4 separate regions of the Homo sapiens genome follow, and regions 1, 2 and 3 are each linked to region 4. Evidence: promoter capture Hi-C in 16 types of primary human blood cells and fetal thymus (Javierre and others, 2016). All regions are on one chromosome and are shown on one strand. Each heading gives the region's core, a stretch centred on a gene start or on the middle of the fragment in contact. The rest is flanking DNA. Distances are from core to core; before and after follow the strand shown.

Evidence for each region. Contacts are between HindIII fragments. The CHiCAGO score rates a contact against its expected background, and 5 or more counts as called.
Region 1: a fragment that was not itself captured here is called in contact with the fragment with the promoter of GRAMD2A in region 4 in 7 of 17 cell types (naive B cells, total B cells, total CD8 T cells and 4 more); the score reaches 7.6 in naive B cells.
Region 2: a contact is called between a fragment that was not itself captured here and the fragment with the promoter of GRAMD2A in region 4, in 1 of 17 cell types (neutrophils). The highest score is 6.2, in neutrophils.
Region 3: a fragment that was not itself captured here is called in contact with the fragment with the promoter of GRAMD2A in region 4 in 1 of 17 cell types (total B cells); the score reaches 5.9 in total B cells.

The regions. Positions count from the first base shown.
Region 1 is chr15:72,566,444-72,569,143 of GRCh38, reverse strand. It overlaps ARIH1 (ariadne RBR E3 ubiquitin protein ligase 1), which reads right to left. Exons shown (of 14, transcript NM_005744.5): 8 at 2,539-2,581; 9 at 1,967-2,038. Among named protein-coding and RNA genes, the nearest start is that of MIR630, 19 kb to the left of the region's middle. The HindIII fragment of the contact is 1,583 bases long and covers 540-2,122 here.
Region 2 is chr15:72,486,311-72,489,010 of GRCh38, reverse strand. All of the region lies in intron 1 of ARIH1 (ariadne RBR E3 ubiquitin protein ligase 1), which reads right to left. Among named protein-coding and RNA genes, the nearest start is that of ARIH1, 13 kb to the right of the region's middle. The HindIII fragment of the contact is 2,380 bases long and covers 166-2,545 here.
Region 3 is chr15:72,697,012-72,699,766 of GRCh38, reverse strand. The region is part of intron 2 of BBS4 (Bardet-Biedl syndrome 4); the gene reads right to left. Among named protein-coding and RNA genes, the nearest start is that of BBS4, 12 kb to the right of the region's middle. The HindIII fragment of the contact is 7,034 bases long and covers 1-2,755 here.
Region 4 is chr15:72,196,529-72,199,228 of GRCh38, reverse strand. It overlaps GRAMD2A (GRAM domain containing 2A), which reads left to right and starts at 1,442. Exons shown (of 12, transcript NM_001012642.3): 1 at 1,442-1,498. The coding sequence starts at 1,458. PKM (pyruvate kinase M1/2) reads left to right here. Exons shown (of 11, transcript NM_002654.6): 11 at 1-200. RefSeq lists a silencer at 1,295-1,714 and an enhancer at 1,825-2,004. The HindIII fragment of the contact is 8,362 bases long and covers 1-2,700 here.

The sequences.
Region 1 (2,700 bases), core at 82-2,581, 370 kb before region 4:
TGAGGTGGGGTTTCACCATGTTGCCCAGGTTGGTCTCAATCTCTCAAGCTCAAGCAATCTGCCTACCTCGGCCTCCCAAAGTGTTAGGATTACAGGTGTGAGCCACTGCACCTGGCCTCATATCATATTCTTGGTTGCTAGTAAGCCAAAATTACTGCTCTGTAGGCCTATGGATTTTTTGTTTTTGCATTTGTGATTGAGGTTTGTAACTCTCCCAAGGAGGGATCACCCACTATATTAGTATTTGCACAATTTGGCCTTCTTTGTGAAATTGACTATGCTGCCCATCAATGATAGCAATTTAAAATAGGCCAATATAGCAACTTTTTAATTATATATTTCAAATCAAATTTTTGAAATCACCCACATAAGAAATTTTACATTTTTTCCAAACAAGCAAATTTCAGGCATAAAATATGCGTCATTCTACATTCTACATTTCTTGGTTATAATTAACCTAATAGTATTAAACCTCCAAAATGTTAGGATATCACTGACAATATGCATATCTGTTTAGGGAGCTAATAATCTTAAAAGCTTCTAAAACCTCAAGAGAAAAACTCTTCAGTTTTCTCTCAAAAATACTGAGCAGCTAAATTTGTTTTACAAATTGCCATTCTTCCTTGGTAATCTACAATCTAAACTAAGCCAAACATATTCAAGCCTGTACTCCCTATTTTAAACATCTTTGGGGCTTACAAGTAGGAATTTCTCTAGATGTAGAAAAAAGGCTACCATTTAATTAAACAATTTAGTGAAAATATAATTGCCTTATTCTAAATATTAGTTTTTCAGAGCATATTAAAGAATTCTGGGACTTAAGGAACATTTCTTGTGGGAAAATCTTCAATTTTCAAAAAAAGAATGCTTGGCTAAGAATTTTTTTTTAATAACAAAACAAGTAACCACTTTCTGACATTACAGTATATTTATAGTAAGGTTTTCTTTGATTGACGTGAGTTATGCTTATCGTGATGGTTTTGGAGGGAACAAAAAATATTAATTTCTACCATATATTCCTTAAAGACTTGGGCATTTGTTTTATGTGGCAAGATTCACTGTTTCACTACTTTCTGGGAGACAGAAATATAAATTCATGTTTTATATATAAGTATGTAAGATGTATATTTAAACACACACAGACAACCTGCGTCGGCCTTCATTGTTTACACACTTCTTAATCTCATTGTCCTGTGATGACTGAGGCAACAGTTCAAAGATAGCTTTATATACTATGGGTCAAACAACTCAGCATTCTTTAAAGCATCATCTTTACATGTACAAAATAATACTAAAAATGAATAGCCCATGAACCAACCTACCATTCATTACCCAAGTCACTCACTATGGGGATAGGATAGGACTGAATTACATAAAGGATGGATAATACGACTTTGTATTAAAAGACTAGCTGGGTACACGGTTGGCATTCAAATGCTTGCTCATTAGATTAGTGATCGAGGAGAAGGGTACTCAAGATTTAAACACTTCTAAGACATTTGTCTGGGGTTAAGAAAGTGAATTTTGAAATTGAATTTTGAAACTAGTATCAAGAGCAATGTACTTCAAAACAAAAAATTAGAAACAAAAATGTAAATTAGCCTAACAGAACCAAGCTAGGCGGAGTAAACTCCAATGCATTTGTATACTAAATGGCAGCCAAGCACAAATCCCACACTTGAAAAATTATCAGCTTTTTCCTCTACAGAACACTAATTTTTTTTCCAGTAGAAGAAACCTAAGGCAGAGAACTGTGGATGCTGTACTACAGTACTCAATACTCTAAAATAAACTCAAAGAGAAAAAGGAAATAACAGGCAAACATTCTGGGAAAAAAAAAAAAAGACTCAATGGAGAAAAAGATGAAACAAAGCCTGTAAGTAGGTCACCTCATTGCTTTTGCTAATGCCAAAGTACCAATCCTTATCATTTTTATTACCAAGAGTTACTGAAGGAAAACACCAACCTTTGTGTTGGCTGCAATCCAATTGGAGGTTTCACTGTCATCATCACACTTTTTAATCCATTTCTTTAACCACTGTTTGAAAATAACAACGGTTAGGATACAACAAAAGACTTTTAAAAATAGCAAATTACTTTAGCACTTAACTATAGTCAAGCTTAAATGTAAAAGCCAATGAATAAGATTATCACTAGGCTCACATCCTCTTAAGCCAGGGAAATCCCATAGCTACAATGTCCAGTATATATAAAATCAACCAAAGCAGGATTTTCTTTGGCAGAAGCTGAGTGGGGAACCTAGAGCTTGAAGAGAAGCCCAACTGCAAGGTGTGTATTCCCCTAATTACAAAGCCTGACAAAGAGGTGCCTTAGCCATGGTTATCCTAATAACAATCAGGAGCTGACTTGGCTTATCCTAAGGAATTACCTCTGAATACATGTAATGATCATCTGAAATTAAAAGGATAAAAAAAAATCTATCAATAGATAGATAACAAAATCATCAGCTATGATTTTTAGTCACTAAGTCTTAGAAGTGTGCCATTATTTAAAAATTGAAATGTCAGACAAACTCACCTTACATTTAACAGGATCATGCCAATTTTCTCCACAGTTAAAGCTGTTAAGTGACACAAAGAGTTAATAGAATTAAGGCCTACCTACTGTAAGCAAGTAAATAAGCCAATCATTTCATGCCTTATAGTTCCACAGTATTGTCACTAGTTTCTAGTGACTGGC
Region 2 (2,700 bases), core at 106-2,605, 290 kb before region 4:
TCAACCTCCCAAAGTTGTGGGATTGCAGGCGTGAGCCACTGCACCTGGGTGATTCCACTGTCTTTAACATCATCACTGTGTCAGTTCACACCCAGCGCCAGGGAACTATACGCAAATAATAAAGCTTCACCTAAAAGGTTGAATATTCAGGGACCTTAAGAAGCTTGTCCTCTTGGAATTCAAACATTTCTTCCTTGCCATCTTCTTACACTACCACTTTGGCATTATCTAGAAATCATAAAATAATTTGTTAGTGCCAGAAGAAAATCTTGTCTGGATCCCTTTGGTTTACCACAAGGAAACTGAGAAAGCAAGCATTTACTAGGCAAGGACAAACTTCAACAAATATTTACTGAGTTTCTTCTGTCAGAGAAGAAACTCTGCTATGAACACAAAGATGAAGGAGTTTTAGTTCTCACCTTCAAAACCCTCATATATAGCTAGAGGCTTGGATATAGGGATAGCTATATCATAACCTCTTATAGGCTATACCAAATATCCATATGAAGCACTATTCAAACATAGATAAGGAAGCACAGGAAAGGTAGAGAAGAACCTGAAAGGAGATGAGCCACCGCAGCCAGCCTGGCAGATTCTCAATAGGAATATATCAGGCAGTTAAGAAGAGAAAGAGAGCTGGGCACGGTGGCTCATGCCTGTAATCCCAACACTTTGGGAGGCTGAGGTGGGAAGATCGTTTGAGTCCAGGAGGTCGAGACCAGTCTAGGCAACATGGCAAAAAATTGTCTCTACCAAAAACAAAACAAACAAACAAAAAATAAATAAATAAAAATAATAATACAAAAAATTAGCCAGGTGTAGTGGCATGCAACTGTAGTCCCAGCTACTCAGGAGGCTGAGGTGGGAGGATCGCTTGAGCCCAGGAGTTCAAGGCTGTAGTGAGCCGTGATCGTGCCACTGCACTCCAGCCTGAGCAACAGAGCAAAAACCCTGTCTCAAGAAAAAAGAGAGACAGAAAGAAAAGAAAAGGTATCAAAAGAAGAGGGACAAGTATGAACAAAAGCATGAAAACACAAATATGTGTTACACAGTAAAGAATTACAAACAGTGCAACTGGGGGTGATAAGGGATGAGGAACAACTGCAGATGAGATTGAAAAAAATTAGCTATGTTAAGATGGGGAAGCCATGAATGCCATAGTAAGGAGTCTGGGATAGACTTTTGACAGAAAGTCTCTTTTTAGCAGGAGGATGACTATTAAATTTGTGTTTGGTAACAGAATGATACACTGGAAGCCCAGAGACAAGGAGGCAAAATAAAAAGGTCCTAAACTAGGATTAGTTAGTAAAAAGGATAGCAACAACATGAAACAAATTTCAGAGGTAACTTGATCAGGGATAACTGGATGTGGAAAATGAAGGAAAAAAAAAAGGATGACTCAAATCCCAAGAATGGTTCTCAGATAAGCCAATAAAAGGGGGAAAAGCCTCAAAGAGAGAAGGTATTAAATTTGAGTTTCAAGTAAGTTTCAGATAAATATCTGTCCAAATGTCACAAATTCCAAGATAAATGTCCACATTAGAGGCTTTCACTTATAAATACTTGCTAAGAATCAGGTAATACTTCTCGGTTTCTAGTTTACACTTTATCCCTAAAAACACTGTACAATTGTGATTAGGAGAGAGGACATATTACCAGGTAATTAGAGCCAGTTAATATCTGAGTTATAAGTATGACAGTTTCAAAGGCAATGGCAAAGCAAGCCTGGGGAGAAGTGTCTAGGATGATAGCTATTCTTAGCATTGTCTAAGCAAATGTCTCAGTAACAAGAAAATGTTACCTAATACTTCATTACCTGCTCTGTTTTTTGCCAAAATGTATTGTCAGGGCACTTCTGACACTTTTAAATGGAACAGAGCAAAAAAGGAAAGAACAATACTACACAACAATATTTACATACAAAAAAAAATAATAATAATAATAGGAGAAAATTCCTGAATATTTGGCATTTTTCATTTAAATCTTCAAACTTTTGGCCTTAAAACCAAAATTGTCAGGCTGGGCACAGTGGTTCATGCCTGTATCTCAGCACTTTGGGAGGCTGAGGAGGGCGGATCACCTGAAGACAGGAGTTCGAGACCAGCCTGGCCAACATGGTGAAACCCTGTCTCTACCAAAAAATACAAAAATTAGCCAGGTGTGGTGATGCATGCCTGTAATCTCAGCTAATTGGGAGGCTGAGGCACGATAATCACTTGAACCCAGGAGGTAGAGGTTGCAGTGAGCCAAGATCATGCCACTGCACTCCAGCCTGGGCCACAGAGACTCTGTCTCAAAAAAAAAAAAAAAAAAAAAGTCATTTTTAAAAATGAAAAAAAAAAAAAGTAGGGCTCTGGAAAGCTGATTTGCCAGAGCAGATGTTAGAGAGCATTAAGAATTTTTTAAGCCACCTTCTGAGATAGCATACTATCCATCACTTAAACACTAACTGGGCATCAACTATACCCCAAGCTGTATCAAATGAGACATTACAGCAGTCCCCTTCATCCTCAGGGAACATGTCCCAAGACCCTCAGTGGAAGCTTGAAAGTGTAGGTAATACCGAACTTATACATGCTATGTTTTTTCAATCTGGTAACAGTGAAGTGACCAGCCGAGGCCAGTAGCAGGTAGGTAGTCTATATACTGCTATATACTGGATAAAGGGATGATTCACGTCCTGGGTGGGATGGTGAGAGA
Region 3 (2,755 bases), core at 204-2,703, 500 kb before region 4:
AAGCTGCCAAAAGCTAAATAGTAGATACTGTATGGCTCCCTTTGTGTGAAGTTCAAGCACAACTTATTATAGGAAAGTTCAAAATCAATTTATACAGGCAGAAATCAGAATGGTGGTTGCATCTGGCGAAGTGAAGCAGAAGACTTACTGGAAAAAGGCATGAGGAAACTTTCTAAGTGATAAAAATGTTTAATTTGATCTGATGATTACAGGAATATAAATATGTACATGAGTATACATATCTGTCAAAATTCAAGAGTGTGTATTTCAGATTTAAAGATTTACTAGCATTGAAATTAAAAATAATAGGGAAAAATTAGATATATACTACCTTCCATTTAAATTAGAAGTTAACATTGTTCCTCAAAAATTAAACAGAATTGGGCCAAGCACGGTGGCTCACACCTGTAATCCCAGAACTTTGGGAGGCTTTGGGGTGGATCATGAAGTCAGGAGCTCGATACCAGTCTGGCCAACATAGTGAAACCCCGTTTCTACTAAAAAGACAAAAAATTAGCCAGGCATGGTGGTGGGCACCTGTAATACCAGCTACACGGGAAGCTGAGGCAAGAGAATCACTTGAACCCGGGAGGCAGAGGTTGCAGTGGAAAAAAAAAAAAATGCTTAGCTCATCCATTTAATCAGTGGAGCGGTGGAGCAAAAGCCAGATTACAATAGACAAATAGACTCAGAGGTGAGGATACCAAGACAAGTAAGATAAACTATTCTTTCAGAAAGCTAATCAATGAAAGTCATTCACTATCACAGTAGAAATAGTGAGATTTGGTAACTACTTATCAAAGACTGTGACAGTGGTTTCATGTAGACTTTAGGGTGAATTAGGTAACAACTAAATTACCTTGTAACTCTATAATTCTGTATACACAAGAACCAAAATTAGCAAAAGGAAAAGATTAATGAAGTGAAGAGCATGTACAGCATCTACAAAATCAAAATCACGTCTGAGAACCAAATATATACACAGTAATTAGTCTGTAGAATAAATTATTATATACAGTACAGGAAATGACATATTTCTAGAATATCTACAAAATTCCTAGTTTCTACAACTTTTAAATTCTTTAAGAATTACTGACATATAAAGACTCTAAGGAAAACAACCCAAATGCCCATCAACAGACAGATAAACAAAATGTGATATATACATACACTAGAATATTATTCAGCCTTAAAAAGGAATGAAATTCTGACACATGCTACAACATGAATGAATCTTGAAAATGCTGAGTGGAATAAGCCAGGCAGAAAAGGGCAAATATTGTATGATTCACCTTACATGAAAAACCTAGAATAGTCAAATTCATAGATACAGAAAATAGAATGGAGATTACCAGGATCTGGGGAGGCAAGGGGATGTGGAGATTTATTGTTTAATGGGTACAGTGTTTCTGTTTGGAATGATGAAACACTTCTAGAAATGGACAGTGGTGATGGCTGCACAACTTTGTAAATGTACTTAATGCCACTGACTTACACACTTAAAAATGGTAAATTTTATATATATTTTACAATAATAAATTATTCTATTAAACAATTAGTCTAAAACCAGATATCAAGCTGAGATCAGGTTTTTTACATAGTGAGTATGTTGTCTCAGGTTGTGGACAAAACTCATCCTCAGCTATGGCCACCCCAAAATGGGTAAAGTTTTCAATGAAGACTCCTTTAAGGAAGAAAATAGACTCAAGCAGTAAATCAGTTCGCTCACCTCAATGATGGGTAAGATCTTCAACTGAAAGCCAGAAGAAAGTCACCTAAGGTTACATCATGGGGCAAAAGGAAGAGGACTTCAGTAGCCTCATGTAGCATATTATTTTCTCAGAACCACCAAGTAGTTCTGATCAATAATTTCATTGCCTGTTCTTGAAAAAGTCCTGATATATTTGGACAAAAATACCAAACAGAAATCTGTTTATCCCTTCCACAGTTGGCAGTCATCACCCTCAAAACTAAAGAGTCAAACTTTGAGAGAATATGGACCTCTCAAGCTGAGGAGGAAAGAGTGAGGGAGAGGCACAACATCCATTCTCAGTCAAAATGCCTCCAATTGCTACTTGTTCAAATAACGTCTCTCAGCTTGCTAATCCAACTTCTGTGTGAATTCTTTATGCACTTACCAACTTTCTGCCTTCTATTTCCAAGTATTACACTACTTAACCAGAGCAGTGGTTCTCAAGTGGGAACAATTTTGCCCCAGAAGGAATAACTGGCAACATCTGGAGACACTTTTGGTTGTTACAATTAAGTGCTACTGTCATCTACCAGGTAGAAGCCAGGGATGTTGTTAACCATCCTACAATATACAGGACAACTCCAACAAAGATTTATCTTGCTCAAAATATCATTCATGCCAAAGCTGAAAAAACCTGAACTAGAGGTATAAAAAAAGTCTAAGGATTTCACAGTAAAATGTGACAGCTTTTTATTCAAAGTACTACTTTTTTAATTTGTTAAAGTCCCGTTAATACTTAAGGATGATAGTTCTTCTCTTTTCTTAATACCTCCCTATATTGGGCTGGATGCAGTGGCTCATGCCTGTAATCCCAGTACTTTGGGGGGCCAAAGCAGGTGGATCACTTGAGGTCAGGAGTTCAAGACCAGCCTGGCCAACGTGGTGAAACCCCATCTGTACTAAAAATAAAAAAATTAGCCAGGCATGGTGGTTCATGCCGATAATCCCAGCTACTTGGGAGGCTGAGACAGCAGAATCACTTGAACCCAGGAGGTGGAGGTT
Region 4 (2,700 bases), core at 193-2,692:
AAGCCGACTCTGGCCCTGGCCCTTACTTGCTTCTCTAGCTCTCTAGGCCTCTCCAGTTTGCACCTGTCCCCACCCTCCACTCAGCTGTCCTGCAGCAAACACTCCACCCTCCACCTTCCATTTTCCCCCACTACTGCAGCACCTCCAGGCCTGTTGCTATAGAGCCTACCTGTATGTCAATAAACAACAGCTGAAGCACCTGTTTCCTCTCTTTTCTGCTGGGGAGGGGGAGGTGGTTGAACCCTGCCCTCTGAGCAGGCTGGGAATGGCTGCAGCCTCGTGCCCCGCAGTGGGAGCTATGGTGGTGTCACCTGCCATCCTGCCCACCTCCTGGTGCAGAGGCGCTGGGAAAGCAGTAGCTTACTATCTTAGGGTTACAGGTTGCCCCCTTCAGTGCTGCGGGGAGACTTTAATGGCTTACGTGAACCGAAGATGGGAAAGAGCAGGGACAAGGCCTCCCTCCCACTCTGGTAGATAAACCCAAATTGCAAAGTGGCCTTGGCCATGGTTCTTCCACTTTGGTCTTCCTGCATTAGCGTATCCCTTATGGGGGCTGTAGGAGGAGTCAGCTCTGGGCGCCTGAGACTGGGTTTGGCTCCCAGGTCCTCAGTTGTGGACCTAGGCTCCCCTTGGGACCCCTCCTGTTTGCTGGTGCCCTCCCACCATGATGCTGTAGTGCCAAAGGGCTGGGGGAGAGAGTTGGGAATGGGACCAAATCTGGCCTGCGCTTTTCCTCTCCCCTGACCACACTCCCAAGGACCAAGTGTCCTGGTGGGGATGGAAGAGGAAAGGGCCTGCAGGCCAGGCAAAAGCTCATTGTCACACTGAGCGCACGTGCCTCTGCTTCCCTGCCTTTGATTTGTGTCCACCTTCAGCCCCTTTGCAGACTCCTCCAAAAGTGTATTTCCTTGGAGAAACTGCAATGTTAACTCCGGCAAAAGTGCGTGGGAGCATCCTGGCTCCCGGGTTCGTGGTGGTGACTTGGCTGTCAGACCATGGTGTTCAATATCCCCTTTGGTGTTCCCCACTGACGGTAAAATTGAAACTTATCCGGAGCTCTATGTTGGGAAGGGTTAGGTTGGAGAGGGGCCGGAATTGGTTCCTGCAGAGGGACCCAAGCCGCAAGACTAGGACGACAGAAGCGTCCAGAGGGGACACAATACCCTCGACGTGAGGGACAGGAGGTGCCGCGCCAGGCCCTGGCCTCCGGGACCTCCCAGTCCGGGGAACCGAGCGCTAGGATCTGCTCAGAGCTTGGAGCCCCACCTGGGGAAGGTGGGGAAGGAGAGAAGCTGGGGAAGCTGGGGAATGAGGGGGAGGAACGGCCAATGGGCTGTGCCCGGCCCGCGCGACCCGCCAATGGGCGGGCGGGCGGGGCGGGCTCTCGACGGGGCGGGCGGGGTCCGGCGGGCGCTGGGTCCCGGCGCGCGGTCGGGGCGCTGGGTGCAGGCGCCGGGATGACCGCTTTAAGCCGGAGCGAGGCCACCGAGGAGGGCGGGTAAGGGGTTGCGGCCCGGGGGCCGGTCTCGGGGGTTCCGGAGGCCGCCGCGAGGGGCTGCTGCCGCGCGGGGCAGGACGGCTCCTGGGGCCGCGGCAACTCGGCGCGTTCTGCCCACGGGGCAGGCACTTCCCGGCCGCCGGAATGCGGGCTCCGGGCCAGAGCTGCACCGCGCGCCCAGGCGTCTCCCGGGGCCCGCGAGGTGTTCGCACTAGGACCGGGTGTCTTGGCTGAGTCTGCTGCGACCTGGGGGATGAGGGACGGTCCCGGCAGCATCGGGGCAAGGAAGGGCACCCTCCTCGGGACGCCCCGCATGGCCCATCTCCGCCTCGCCACTCTGTTCATCCTTTCATTTATTCATTCATCATTCGTTGCCCGCGGTATCGACTCCCAGTCCTAATTGCCCCCGACCCAAAGGTTGGATTTCCCTGCGTCCCCTGGAGGGCCAGACTGTTTCCTCTCGCCGCCGAATCCGTATTGTAGCGGCCCGCGGCTGCGGGGAGGCAGCTCGGAGCTGTCTCAGCACGACGCGGCCTCCCCCGGGCGCCAGGCCCATCCCGGTCGGGCGGGCTGGGGCCGGTCTCCCGGCCTCGAGACCTGGTCCAAAGTCGCCCTGGGAGAAAGGGATAAGGAGGCAGGGCAGACAGGAGCTGGCGCTGCACGTAACATCCAGAATTGTGGTTTCTGCTGCTTGAGGTCTTAGGGTCCTGGGAGTGACATTGTTTGGGGGAACCTGTCAATTCCTGCCCCGGTCCAGGTTCCAAGCCGCACAGCCTAAGGTCGGGTACAGCCTGGCATCCTCGGCCAGCTAGCACTGGGGCAGGTAGGATGAATGTGTGAGCCTTGTGTCCAAATCAGCCCGAGACACACAGGGATGTGGACCCCAGCGGGACTCCCTCTGCCTTATACTCAGAGGGACTGGTGGGGCTCCACCCCGCTGTCGTCTGTGTCTCTGCTCTGCTTGCCGCCCCACTCACTATGCTTGATTGTTTAAAGGTGCCCCTCCTTGCAGGGGCCAGGCTCCTAGGGAACGAGAGAGGGTACCCTCGCAACCTGATGTCTTCACCCCATGTCCACCTGTAGCCGGCTCTAAAGTCTGGCTCCTTTCAGAGCAAAGACTTATGGCCTTGCTGGGAGAGGTAGAATAGAGGGTGTCTATCCCATTCTTCAGTGAGGAGTCAGTATGCCCCTCCTTCTTTTTT